2 separate regions of the Homo sapiens genome follow, and region 2 is linked to region 1. Evidence: promoter capture Hi-C in 16 types of primary human blood cells and fetal thymus (Javierre and others, 2016). All regions are on one chromosome and are shown on one strand. Each heading gives the region's core, a stretch centred on a gene start or on the middle of the fragment in contact. The rest is flanking DNA. Distances are from core to core; before and after follow the strand shown. Region 1 overlaps GTF3C5 (general transcription factor IIIC subunit 5). Region 2 holds the start of CACFD1 (calcium channel flower domain containing 1).

Evidence for each region. The method cuts DNA at HindIII sites, captures the fragments that hold promoters and counts their contacts. A CHiCAGO score of 5 or more calls a contact.
Region 2: the fragment with the promoter of CACFD1 here is called in contact with a fragment that was not itself captured in region 1 in 1 of 17 cell types (total B cells); the score reaches 5.0 in total B cells.

Annotation. Positions count from the first base shown.
Region 1 is chr9:133,033,966-133,039,453 of GRCh38, forward strand. All of the region lies in intron 1 of GTF3C5 (general transcription factor IIIC subunit 5), which reads left to right. Among named protein-coding and RNA genes, the nearest start is that of GTF3C5, 5.7 kb to the left of the region's middle. The HindIII fragment of the contact is 198 bases long and covers 2,735-2,932 here.
Region 2 is chr9:133,456,610-133,462,097 of GRCh38, forward strand. CACFD1 (calcium channel flower domain containing 1) reads left to right here and starts at 3,369. Exons shown (of 5, transcript NM_017586.5): 1 at 3,369-3,578. The coding sequence starts at 3,458. It overlaps ADAMTS13 (ADAM metallopeptidase with thrombospondin type 1 motif 13), which reads left to right. Exons shown (of 29, transcript NM_139027.6): 27 at 1-110; 28 at 1,301-1,485; 29 at 2,365-2,777. The coding sequence ends at 2,571. RefSeq lists enhancers at 447-1,314, 838-1,132 and silencers at 2,965-3,184, 3,195-3,294, 3,585-3,884. The HindIII fragment of the contact is 16,509 bases long and covers 1-5,107 here.

The DNA.
Region 1 (5,488 bases), core at 1,584-4,083:
TCTGGGTCTGGGTTTCTTCATTGTTTTTAACCGCCGATGGTCCAGTCAACCTTAGAGAGGGTTCCTATGGGATCCCGTCCTGTAACATCTGCTCCTAACCCGTACCGTCCGAATACAGAGGGTTCTTGGGCCATTGTTTGGGGATTATCTATAATTAGCAATAAGGGGTTACACCGCAGTGGCTTACAATTTGGTGGAGTGGAGCGATGGATAAGTTAGAGTTTTTGTTTGAGTTTCCGCAACTTATTTAAAGGAGGGGGGTTGGCTGTCCGCCTCCCATATTGACTGGTCCACCAAACATTTGCCCAGTCACCACAGGGGCCCTTTAAGGCTCCATACTTATACTTGTTTGACTGTCTGCGATATGGACATGGATACTTAACTACATCGGATAGCTGCCTTTGAGCTTGTTCGTATCTGCACGGGGTAAGAACAAGTGTCGAACTGAAGGGTCAAGGGATGGTTAGCCTGAGTCACATTGATGACAAGATGACCTTATGTTGGAAAGAAAAGGAAAAATAGACAAGTGATTATTAAGCCCTTTTTAGGGTTAGTTTGGTAGGGGTGGGTCCCGGGGTGACAGCCCATTTTTCCCTGTCTGTGGACATTACTCCTTTCACCTGGCGTGTAGTGTGCCCATCCCTTTTCAGCCGTTCGAATCGCTGTTTCAGTAGTTAAGAGTACCAGATAAGGCCCTTCCCAAGCTGGTTCAAGTTTTCCCTCCTTCCAGCTTTTGATGAGAACGTGATCCCCAGGCTGATGCTGGTGTGCTGGAAACTCTAGAGCTGGCGTCTGTGCTCAGAGGCCTTCAGTCCTGAGGGAAGAAAAAGTGGAGGAGAGACCAAGTTTATAGTTTTTAAGAAACTGATCTTTGTTTCAAACGTAGCAATGTCAGCAATGGAGTGTAGATAAGGCAACCCATATAGCATTTCATAAGGGGATAAGCCAACATCTTTCCAAGGGGCAGTTCGGATTTTTCACAAGGCAATGGGAAGGCATTTAGTCCATGGCAACCGAGTCTCTAAGACTAATTTGGTTAAGTGACTCTTCAGAGTTTGGTTCATTCTCTCCACTCTTCCTGATGAAGGTGGGTGCCAGGGAGTGTGGTATTCCCCTGCTATGTCTAGTACTTGGGCTAGTTTCTTGACGGCATGTGCAGTGAAATGAGTCCCATTATCTGAATCAATATTTTGTATTAATCTGTTAAACCTGGGTATAATATTCTCAATCAATGCTTTAATTACATTATTAGCAGTTGCACTTGAAAAGGGAATAGGTTCCCTCCAGTGCGTAAGGTGATCTACTATCACTAATAAGTACTTTAGGCAACCGACTGGGGGCATTTCGGTGTAATCAATTTGGACACTTTGGGACGGTCTTAACCCTGGACTCCTTTCCCCCAGGGAGTGGTTTTCTTAGGGTCTGCTTATTAGTCTTTTTGCATATTAGACAACTATCTGTAACTTGTCTTTCCAGAGTATAAATTCCTATACATCCCTAAACCCTGAGAACTGCATCACACATGGCTTGGGGTCCCCAGTGAATTCCTTGATGCAGCTGAGATAAGACTTCTCTCTTGAGGGGTTTGGATAACATTTCTCTTTGGTCTGGTAACACCCATTTCCCTTCAGAATTCTCTTTGGCCCCTATTTTTATTAATTTCCCTTTTTCAGTGGAAGAGAAGATGGGAACTGCGGTCGGGGGAGGAAGACAAGGGGTTAGGTGAAAAGTGAGCGTTTTGAGGAAATGGCAGCTTGTTTGGCTATTTGATCTGCAAGGTTATTACCTCGACTTTCACAAGAAAGACCTTTCTGGTGTCCTGGGACATGGACAGTAGCTATTTCTTCTGGCAGCTGGAGGTTACCTAACACTTGGGTGATTAATTCCTTGTGGGCAAGGTCTTGGCCTTTGCTATTAATGAGACCTCGTTCGGTCCAAATTTTTCCAAAGGTATGAGCTAGCCCGAAGGCGTACTTGGAATCAGAATAAATAGTTCCTTCTTGGTTTTGCAAGTGCTTTAAGGCTTGATTCATTGCAAACAATTCACATGTTTGGGCAGACCAATGACTGGGCAGCCTTCCTGACCCTCCTTCTGCAAGGGCTTCCCCATAGACTACTGAATATCCATTATGTCTTTTTCCTTCAGTTACCTGGGAAGAGCCATCTATAAATAAGTGCTGCCCTGTTTGAAAGGGGTCTCCCTTACATCGGGCCTGAATCTAAACACTCATGCTCAGGTCCTTTTAGATTTGGATTCCCTGTTAGGAGACCTGCTGGGTTAAGTGAATTATCAGTGGTTAGTGTTAAATCATCTCTCTAATAGGATAGCTTCATACTTTAAAATTTTTGAGTCAGTGAGCCATCTCCCTGCTTTCTGGTTTAAGATAGTTCTAACTTGATGAGGCGTGCTCACAACTAAATCTCCCCCAAAGGTCAGCTTTCTGCTTTCTTCAGTTAACAAAGCCGTAGCCGCAATGGATTGAATACATTCAAGCCATCCACAGGTTACTGGATCTAAAACTTTCGACAGGAACACCACAGGTTGCCAGTGACCCCCGTGTTCTTGAGTAAGTACCCCTAAAGCTACCCCCTTCTTTACATTAATGAAAAGATGAGATGGCTTTTCTAGGGAAGGCAGGGCTAGGACGGGGCAGTTATGAGCATATGTTTTAGTTCTTCAACCTGGTGGATTTCTTCAGAGGTCCACAGAAGAGGGTCAGGCTTTTCTTGGGCAAGCTTTAGGTATAAAGATTTTGTTTTTAGGGCATATGAGTCAATCCGTAAGCGGCAATATCCAACCAATCCTAGGAATGTTACGAGTTCCTGCTTAGTTTTAGGCAAAGTTAAGAAGGACACGATCCCTTCGACGTGTTCAGTTCCTGTCCTTCGTATCAAGTGTCCTAGGTATTTAACTTCTGGCTCTACAGATTGAAGCTTTCCCTTTGAAACCCCATAACCCTTTTCCTTGCAAATGGTTAAGGAGGTGGACGGAGAGGGCAGCTATCCGTTCTGTAGCTTCACCAGATACCAGCGGGTCATCCACGTATTGGAGCAGGCATGTGTTTTGGGGTAGAAATTTGTTCTAGAACTTGTTCTAGAATCTGACCGAAGAGGTTAGAGGAGTCTGTGAAGTCTTGGGGGAGAACTGTCCGTCGATACTGTTGCTTCCGTCCGGAATGGGGATCTTTCCATTCGCAAGCAAAAATGTCTCGGCTGTCCTCAGACAAGGGGCATGCCCAAAAAGCATCTTAAATATATTACTGTAAACCACTGATGGTCGTATGGAATTTTGCTGAGGAGGGTGTAAGGATTAGGGACAACAGGGTGAGTAGTCTGGAATATCTGGCTGATGGCCCAGAGGCCTTGCACTAGTCAGTATGACCCATCTGACTTTCTTACAGGCAGTATTGGGATAAGGGGACACACCGGGTTCAAGGAGCCCGTCCCTAATGAGACTCTCAATGATAGGTTTTAGGCCTATTCTGCCTTCTAAGGGGATGGGATATTGCTTCCTTCTTACTATTTCCCCCCGGGGTTTTTAACTTTATATGTATGGTGGGGGGGTGGGACTTGGAGTCTTCCCCAATTCCCTTCCCTTGACCAGAGATCGGGATGAATGTATTTTTCTTCATGGTGGTAAGTAGGTTTAATGAGGTGAGGAATCCTTCTGGGCTAACATGTAAACCTATACCTAACTTTAAGTCTCTTCCTAACGGGTTAGTTCCTGCTTCAGGGATTAGCAGAAATTTAACGTGGGCTGTTCGATTTTTATGTTTGAACTCTGCGTCTTCTAAGATTTTTGCTCTAAATCCTTCTCCCTTTACCCCTGAAACAAAAAGCTCTTCTGAGGAGCAGCTGACGCTAGACGGAAGGGAACAAACAGAAGAGCGAGCAGCACCCTTCTGCAGAAGTAAACTTAGCACATTTAGTTCTGCAGAAGAAAGGTGCTGTGCTGCTCGCTCTTCTGGCCACCAGAGCACACGGAACAAAGGAGGAAAGGTTCCTGTGTCTTGTCCCACTGGCTGGAGTTGGACCGCACAATCTAAGCTGATCTCGATTGGCTATTTCAAATAGAACAGGGATGTGGGTTACAGTGGCTGGATGAGCGGTTTCGCCAGGAAGAATAGTTTCGGCGGGAAGGGCAGTTACAGAGCGGGTAACTAAGGGCAAGGAGGCGCAAAGAACAAGGAAGTTAGACTTTGAAGATGGAGAACAAAGAAGAAGGGAGTTGAACAAGCTGAACCTTTGAGGAGGAACTCACTCAACCTGGATATCTAATATCCGGGACACTGAGAGAGGGACGGAGTTGCTGGACGGCGGCTGAAGGGGAGAGTCTACCCGGGCGTGTGGTTTCCTTGGCAACGGAGAGTGTGGTGGACTCTGGGTGCCCAATGGGCAGGGCTTTGGTATCTGTAATTGCCAGGAACAGCCTTTTTCTCCCCAGGGGACAGAGGGGAAGGGACTGTGGGGGAGACCCCTAGGAGCTTTTTTTTTTTTTTTTTTGAGACGGAGTCTGGCTCCGTCGCCCAGGCTGGAGTGCAGTGGCGCGATCTCGGCTCACTGTAACCTCCGCCTCCCGGGTTCAAGCAGTTCTCCTGCCTCAGCCTCCTGAGTAGCTGGGATTATAGACACCCACCACCACGCCCGGCTAATTTTTGTTTTTTTTTTTTTAGTAGAGTTGGGGTTTCACCATGTTGGCCAGGCTGGTCTCGAACTCCTGACCTCAGGTGATCCACCCAGCTCGGCCTCCCAAAGTGCTGGGATTACAGGTGTGAGCCACTGCGCCCGGCTCCTAGGGGCTTTTTTTTCATTCCATCCACAAATGTGAGCCACAGCCTGGGCACTGGTGCCAGGAATGCAACTCTGCAGCCCCACAGGGTGTGTTGCACTGCCGTATCCTCATTACCCGGGGTAGAAAACTGAGGCACGGGGAGATGAAGCTCTGTTGACTTACCTGAGAGGGATAGACTGTTATGTTGTTAGGATTAGAGGTAGTGATGGTTGACATCTTATTCTCTGCCACGTACGGCTCTAGGTGCCTTACTTAGAGTCCGTCCTCTTTAGAACCCTACCAGGTAGGAACTGTCAGAGTCTGTATTTTACGGGGGAAGGAACTTGTTCGAGGTCACACAGCAAGTGGGGCAGCTGGAGGATGCTATGTGTAAGTTCTTTACATGTACCAGAACTTGAAGTGTCTCTTTAGAGAAGTTTTCCCTGATTGCCCTAACTAAAGTGGCCACTGGCAATTATCTGCCTCCTCATCCTGTTAATTCCAATCTGAAAATGTTTTAAAATGTTTATTCTGACAAAGGCTTATACATATAAAACATTTAAGAAAAAAGGAAAAAAAAATTTACTGTCTCTCGTCCTCTTGACCCTAAGACTGTCAACTCCATGAGAGTGGGGACTTCTTTTGTTCACTTCTGTACTTCTTTATTTTTATTTTTTTATTTTTTGAGACAGGGTTTCATTCTGTCACCAAGGCTGG
Region 2 (5,488 bases), core at 2,119-4,618, 420 kb after region 1:
TTTCAGCTCCAAGACCAACACGCTGGTGGTGAGGCAGCGCTGCGGGCGGCCAGGAGGTGGGGTGCTGCTGCGGTATGGGAGCCAGCTTGCTCCTGAAACCTTCTACAGAGGTATGGCCAGGCCTTCTCCACCTCCCTTGGGTGCTCCAGTCCTGGCAGGGAGGCTGGGTGGGTGCTGCTGGGGATGGGGCCAGTCCCAGTGGGGCAGTGGGAAGATACGGAGGGAACTGACTGAGATGGAAGGAACTGGGGTTGGCCAGTGTCAGTCTGCACGTGCCAGGGAGGGGTCACAGGATGAATGCTATATCCCTCCTTTTTGGGACCGTGCAGCAAGATGGACGGATGTGGGACATGGTCCACATCCTCAGTCAGTCCCTCAGGCCTCTGCCCCACACCCACCTGCCCCGCCCCCACCCCTCCAGCCTTTCAAGGGCTTTTAGGGTTTTGTGGAAGCCACTGTCCCTCAGCCCTGTTTCAGTGCACTGGTGTAAGCAGACATGCTTGTACATGCATGTGCACCCACAAGCACACCTCAGGCAGAGGATGCCACCTCAGGGACTCCAGCCTTGCCCGTGGCCCCCTCGATATCCTCTGATAGCCCTCTCGGTTGTCCTGGGGGGCTTGCCCTCTCCCAACAGCCCGAGCTGGCCGAAGTTGGCTTCCCTAGCTGGTTCCAGAGGTTCCTCGGCTCCCCCAGGTGTCTGGGGCTTAGTGGCAACAGGGGCTTAGCCTCTGCAGAGACCTAGTGCGCCGCCTCCTTGCCCCAGACCTGCCCGGGCAGAGAGCCGTGTATGTGTCCCAGTGCACAGGCGCTGCTGGGCCCTGCCAAAAGGCCACAAGCCCACTGTCACCGTTCACATTGCTTCTCGCTTCCCGGCCCAGCCCCGCCCACACAGGCATCTGCCTTGAAAGAGGTGCAGGAGGTACAGGCAGGTGGGGGCTCCAGTGAGCTCTGAGGAACAGCAGTGGCCGCCATGGGTGGAGCCTATCTTTGTTGCCAGTTTCAGTGTTAAACACTCTTGCACGTGTGACATCATTGAGTCCTAAAGACCACTCTGCTCAGTGCATGCCATTGTTTCCTTCAGTTACAGAGGAGGGAACCAGAGCCCAGAACATTTAGCCTTTGCCTAAAGTCACTGGGCCAGGAAGTGGTAGAGGTGGGGTTCAGCAGGATTTGCCTGGGAACCCCAATATTGACCACAGTGCCATGCTGCCCTGCACGGCTCCCTGGCTGTGAGTTGTCCTGGCCTCTGGCACCACCGGTCTGTCTGGGTTCCTATGTCCCTATGTCCCACCTGCAGAATGTGACATGCAGCTCTTTGGGCCCTGGGGTGAAATCGTGAGCCCCTCGCTGAGTCCAGCCACGAGTAATGCAGGGGGCTGCCGGCTCTTCATTAATGTGGCTCCGCACGCACGGATTGCCATCCATGCCCTGGCCACCAACATGGGCGCTGGGACCGAGGGAGCCAATGCCAGCTACATCTTGGTGAGGCCCAGCATGGGGACTTGTGCTGTGATTCTGGACAGCTTTCCCTAGGGCGTGCAGGGCTAGGGGACCCCCTTCAGTTTATTTCAGACTAAAACCCTCAAAATCATTAGTGAAAGAATGGGAGAAGATAGCTTCCTCCACATATTCACCAAGAAATGTTTTTTGAGCTACCTACAAGAGTGAAATAGTGGCTCACAACTGTAATCCCAGCACTTTGGGAGGCCCAGGAGGGCAGATCACTCAAGGTCAGGAGTTCGAGACCAGCCTGGCCAACATGATGAAACCTTGTCTCTACTAAAAATAGAAAAAGTAGCCAGGCATGGTGGCGTGTGCCTGTAATCCCAGCTACTTGGGAGGCTGAGGCACAAGAATCACTTGAACCCGGGAGGTGGAGGTTGCACTAAGCCCAGATCGCACCACTGCACTCCAGCCTGGGCAACAGAGTGAGACTCTGTCTCAAAAAAAAAAAAAAAAAAAAAGCGAAATGGTAAAGAATGGTAAAGACCTTTCTGATGTAGACTGACAGCTAACCCAAGACTGAAGCATAATTTTACAGTCTGATATAACTTGGACAGAATAGCACCCTGCACCCTCCCCGAGGTTTCAAGTGTCCTGGGAGAACTGTGTTCTGCAGGGTATCAGCTTCCCCAGAGGAGGCAGCCTGGCCCCGCTCTGGCACCCTGACTGTGTGTCCTTGGGGAAGTGATGTAACGTCCCTGGACCTCGGTTTTCTGGGTAGAGTAATGGCGTATTCCTAGTAGGGCTTTGTAAGCATTAAATGTGATCCGGAATCTGTGAGCCCTTGCACACGAAGGCTTCCGTGAGTGCTAATTATTACTTGTGGCCGGTCCTTCTGGGCTGCCCCTTTTCTCTCAGATCCGGGACACCCACAGCTTGAGGACCACAGCGTTCCATGGGCAGCAGGTGCTCTACTGGGAGTCAGAGAGCAGCCAGGCTGAGATGGAGTTCAGCGAGGGCTTCCTGAAGGCTCAGGCCAGCCTGCGGGGCCAGTACTGGACCCTCCAATCATGGGTACCGGAGATGCAGGACCCTCAGTCCTGGAAGGGAAAGGAAGGAACCTGAGGGTCATTGAACATTTGTTCCGTGTCTGGCCAGCCCTGGAGGGTTGACCCCTGGTCTCAGTGCTTTCCAATTCGAACTTTTTCCAATCTTAGGTATCTACTTTAGAGTCTTCTCCAATGTCCAAAAGGCTAGGGGGTTGGAGGTGGGGACTCTGGAAAAGCAGCCCCCATTTCCTCGGGTACCAATAAATAAAACATGCAGGCTGACCGGCGTTTTTTTCTTATAAGCTGTCCAGACCTGGCTTGAAAACCCATCCCATGGCAAGGCAGGGATTCGCTGGCCGCGGTTGGCTCTATCTTGATCTGAGCAAGCCGCTGGACGTCCCTAGTTATCTTCTTCCTATCCAGGAAGAAAATCCAATCAGGATTCCACTCCGAGGATGGCGCATTAGCCAGCTCCCTGCGAAGCCCCACCCGTGTGTCCTGGTGTGAGGCTCTGACCGCTAAGGTGTCTGCGCGCCTCCAGGCCCCGCCCCCTATGCTAATAAGCGCCCGCCTCCTTTGGGAGCAAGTCGCCGCAAACTGCGAGCCCCCGCCCCCTACGCTAATGACGCCCGCCCCCCTCGGGCACACCTCTCCGATGCCTGCGAGCCCCGCCCCGTATGCTAACGAGCTCCCCACCCCCAGCTCCTCGCCGCAGCCTGCGGGTCCCGCCCCCTACAATAATGAGCACCTACCTCCCCTCAAACGCCCCTAGTCGCGGCATGAGGGTCCCGCTCACTATGTTAATGAGCACCCGCCTCCCTTCGGGCGCGCCTCGCCGCAGCCTGAAAGCCCCGCCCCCTATGCTAATATGCTCCCTCTCCCACAAGGCAGCGCGCCGGCTCGGACGCGGCCGGCTACCGAGCCCTTTGTGAGGGCTGTGAGCTGCGCCTGACGGTGGCACCATGAGCAGCTCAGGTGGGGCGCCCGGGGCGTCCGCCAGCTCTGCGCCGCCCGCGCAGGAAGAGGGCATGACGTGGTGGTACCGCTGGCTGTGTCGCCTGTCTGGGGTGCTGGGGGCAGTCTGTGAGTATCCAGTCGGGGAGAGGGGCCGGCCCCGCCGCGCATGCGCTCCTCGCCCTGCCCTGCCCCGCCCCGCCCCGGCGGCCCCAGGGGAAAGGACCCGCTGGGGGTCGGGGGTCTGCCGGGCGCCTCCCGGGGCGGAGGAATGGCGGGGCCGCCGGGAGCCGGCGTCCTGGGGTTGCCATGGTTACCCGCTCGGGCCTGGGCGCCTTGGTACCCCGGGCTGGGCTGGGCTGGCGCTTCTGGGAACATTCCCGGAGGGACCAGAAACCCCAGGGCGGGGGGGCGGCGGGGGCGGGGGTGGGGCACCGGCCTGGGGCACGTGACTGAGCCCTCCCCCCGCTCCCCAGGGGCTTTTGTGAGACTTTCTCGGTGATGCTCACGGGGCGCATGCCCACCTGGCCCGTACTAAAGCGTCAACTGTTGACTTGGGCGTAGGTGACGGCAGCCACATTGCTAACCTTTGGGCAAGGATTGTTTGTAAGGGAGGCGGGTGCACGGCTGGCTAGATTTCTGGCAGGAAGCCACTGGGCGGAAGTTTGCTGAGGGTCAGGTGGTGTCAGGGCACAGGTGGCCCCTGGGGCCGCGGGGCAGTGAGCTGAGGGCCCGGCCTCTCCCTGGGTCCTCTGTCCGCTCTCATATCTCCCCCGTTGCTGCTGCCTTAGCCGCCTGTCACCGGCCTTCCTCCCCTTCTCCGCACGCATCCCAGTCACAGACCCTGACCTTAGGCTGCCAGGGAAGCTAGGCTCTTAAGCACAGCCAGAAAAGGACAAAGAGGGAGGCAGGTCAGCTCCAGGAGTGAATGGAAGCCGTACAGCTGGCCTTCCAGGGAAAGACAAGTCTGTCTGAGTGATACCCTTTCCTTTCCTGTCTGCCCTCAATCTTGTGGATTACTGGAGTGGGCAAGGTCTTAGAGAATGTCTGTCGAGGATGTCTGCAGGTTTTAAACAGTGCCTGCCTGGCAGAGAGGGCTAGCTCTGGGCCTGGGCAGGGCAGGCCCCATCAGCAATCCTGCCAGAAGGACCACCTTTTCAGGGTCACCTTGGGTTCCACAGCCTTTCCAGGTGGGTAGAGGGTGGAGGGAGGTTGAGGCAGGAGGGTGCTGGGCTAGGAGTGTGCTGCCCTCGCTAGGCATGCCCTTATCCAGAGGCAACGGATACGGTAGGGCAGGCCCTACCCCCAAATCACAAAAAGGCCCCGAGTTTGTGTCACTGCTCTTCAGGGCAAGTACGCTTTTGACTTTGTAGGAGAGACTGGTGGGTTTGAAGTTAGGCATTGGATCCAGTCCTGTCATGTCTGGTTAGCTGTTTTCCCTGCAGATTAGGGTGGGCAGTGCAGTGGGGTGACATGGTCAGTGGTGAGAAAGGAAAGGTCCTGACTATGGCCTGTAGGCCACACCTCCTTCCTTCTTGGTCAGTGGCCCTGCCGACTCCCAGATTTGCTGTGGAGTCTTACTCAGTTCTGTGCCTCTCAAAGTGAGGTACCTCTGCCTTTCCTGGGAGTTCCTGGGGCTCTGTTGGGTCTACAGATGAAGCTTCAGGAGAAACTTGTGGCATTGCCCTGAGTTGTCAGTTGCATCTGCAGATTTTTGGGGGCATGGTTATGTGAACATCAAAATGCTGTATTACAGGGTAGAATGCAAAAATGCAGGGTGTTTTAGAGATGCGGCAGGAGTTCAGACAAGGGTTGTGTGCCGGGCTGGTCCTTGGGTAAGGTTTTCCTCCTCCAGGGTGAGGGGATCAGAGAGAGTACCTGGAGAGGGTCTACCCTGGGTCCTAAGAGCATCTGGAGGTGATACCTTGGGAGGGGACAGGATTGCATGGTGACAGCCCCCTCACGTGGAAGATATCAGCATTGAGGCCCCCAAGTGGACATCCTCCAGCCCTTTATTGCTAAAGGATTCCTGGCTGGAG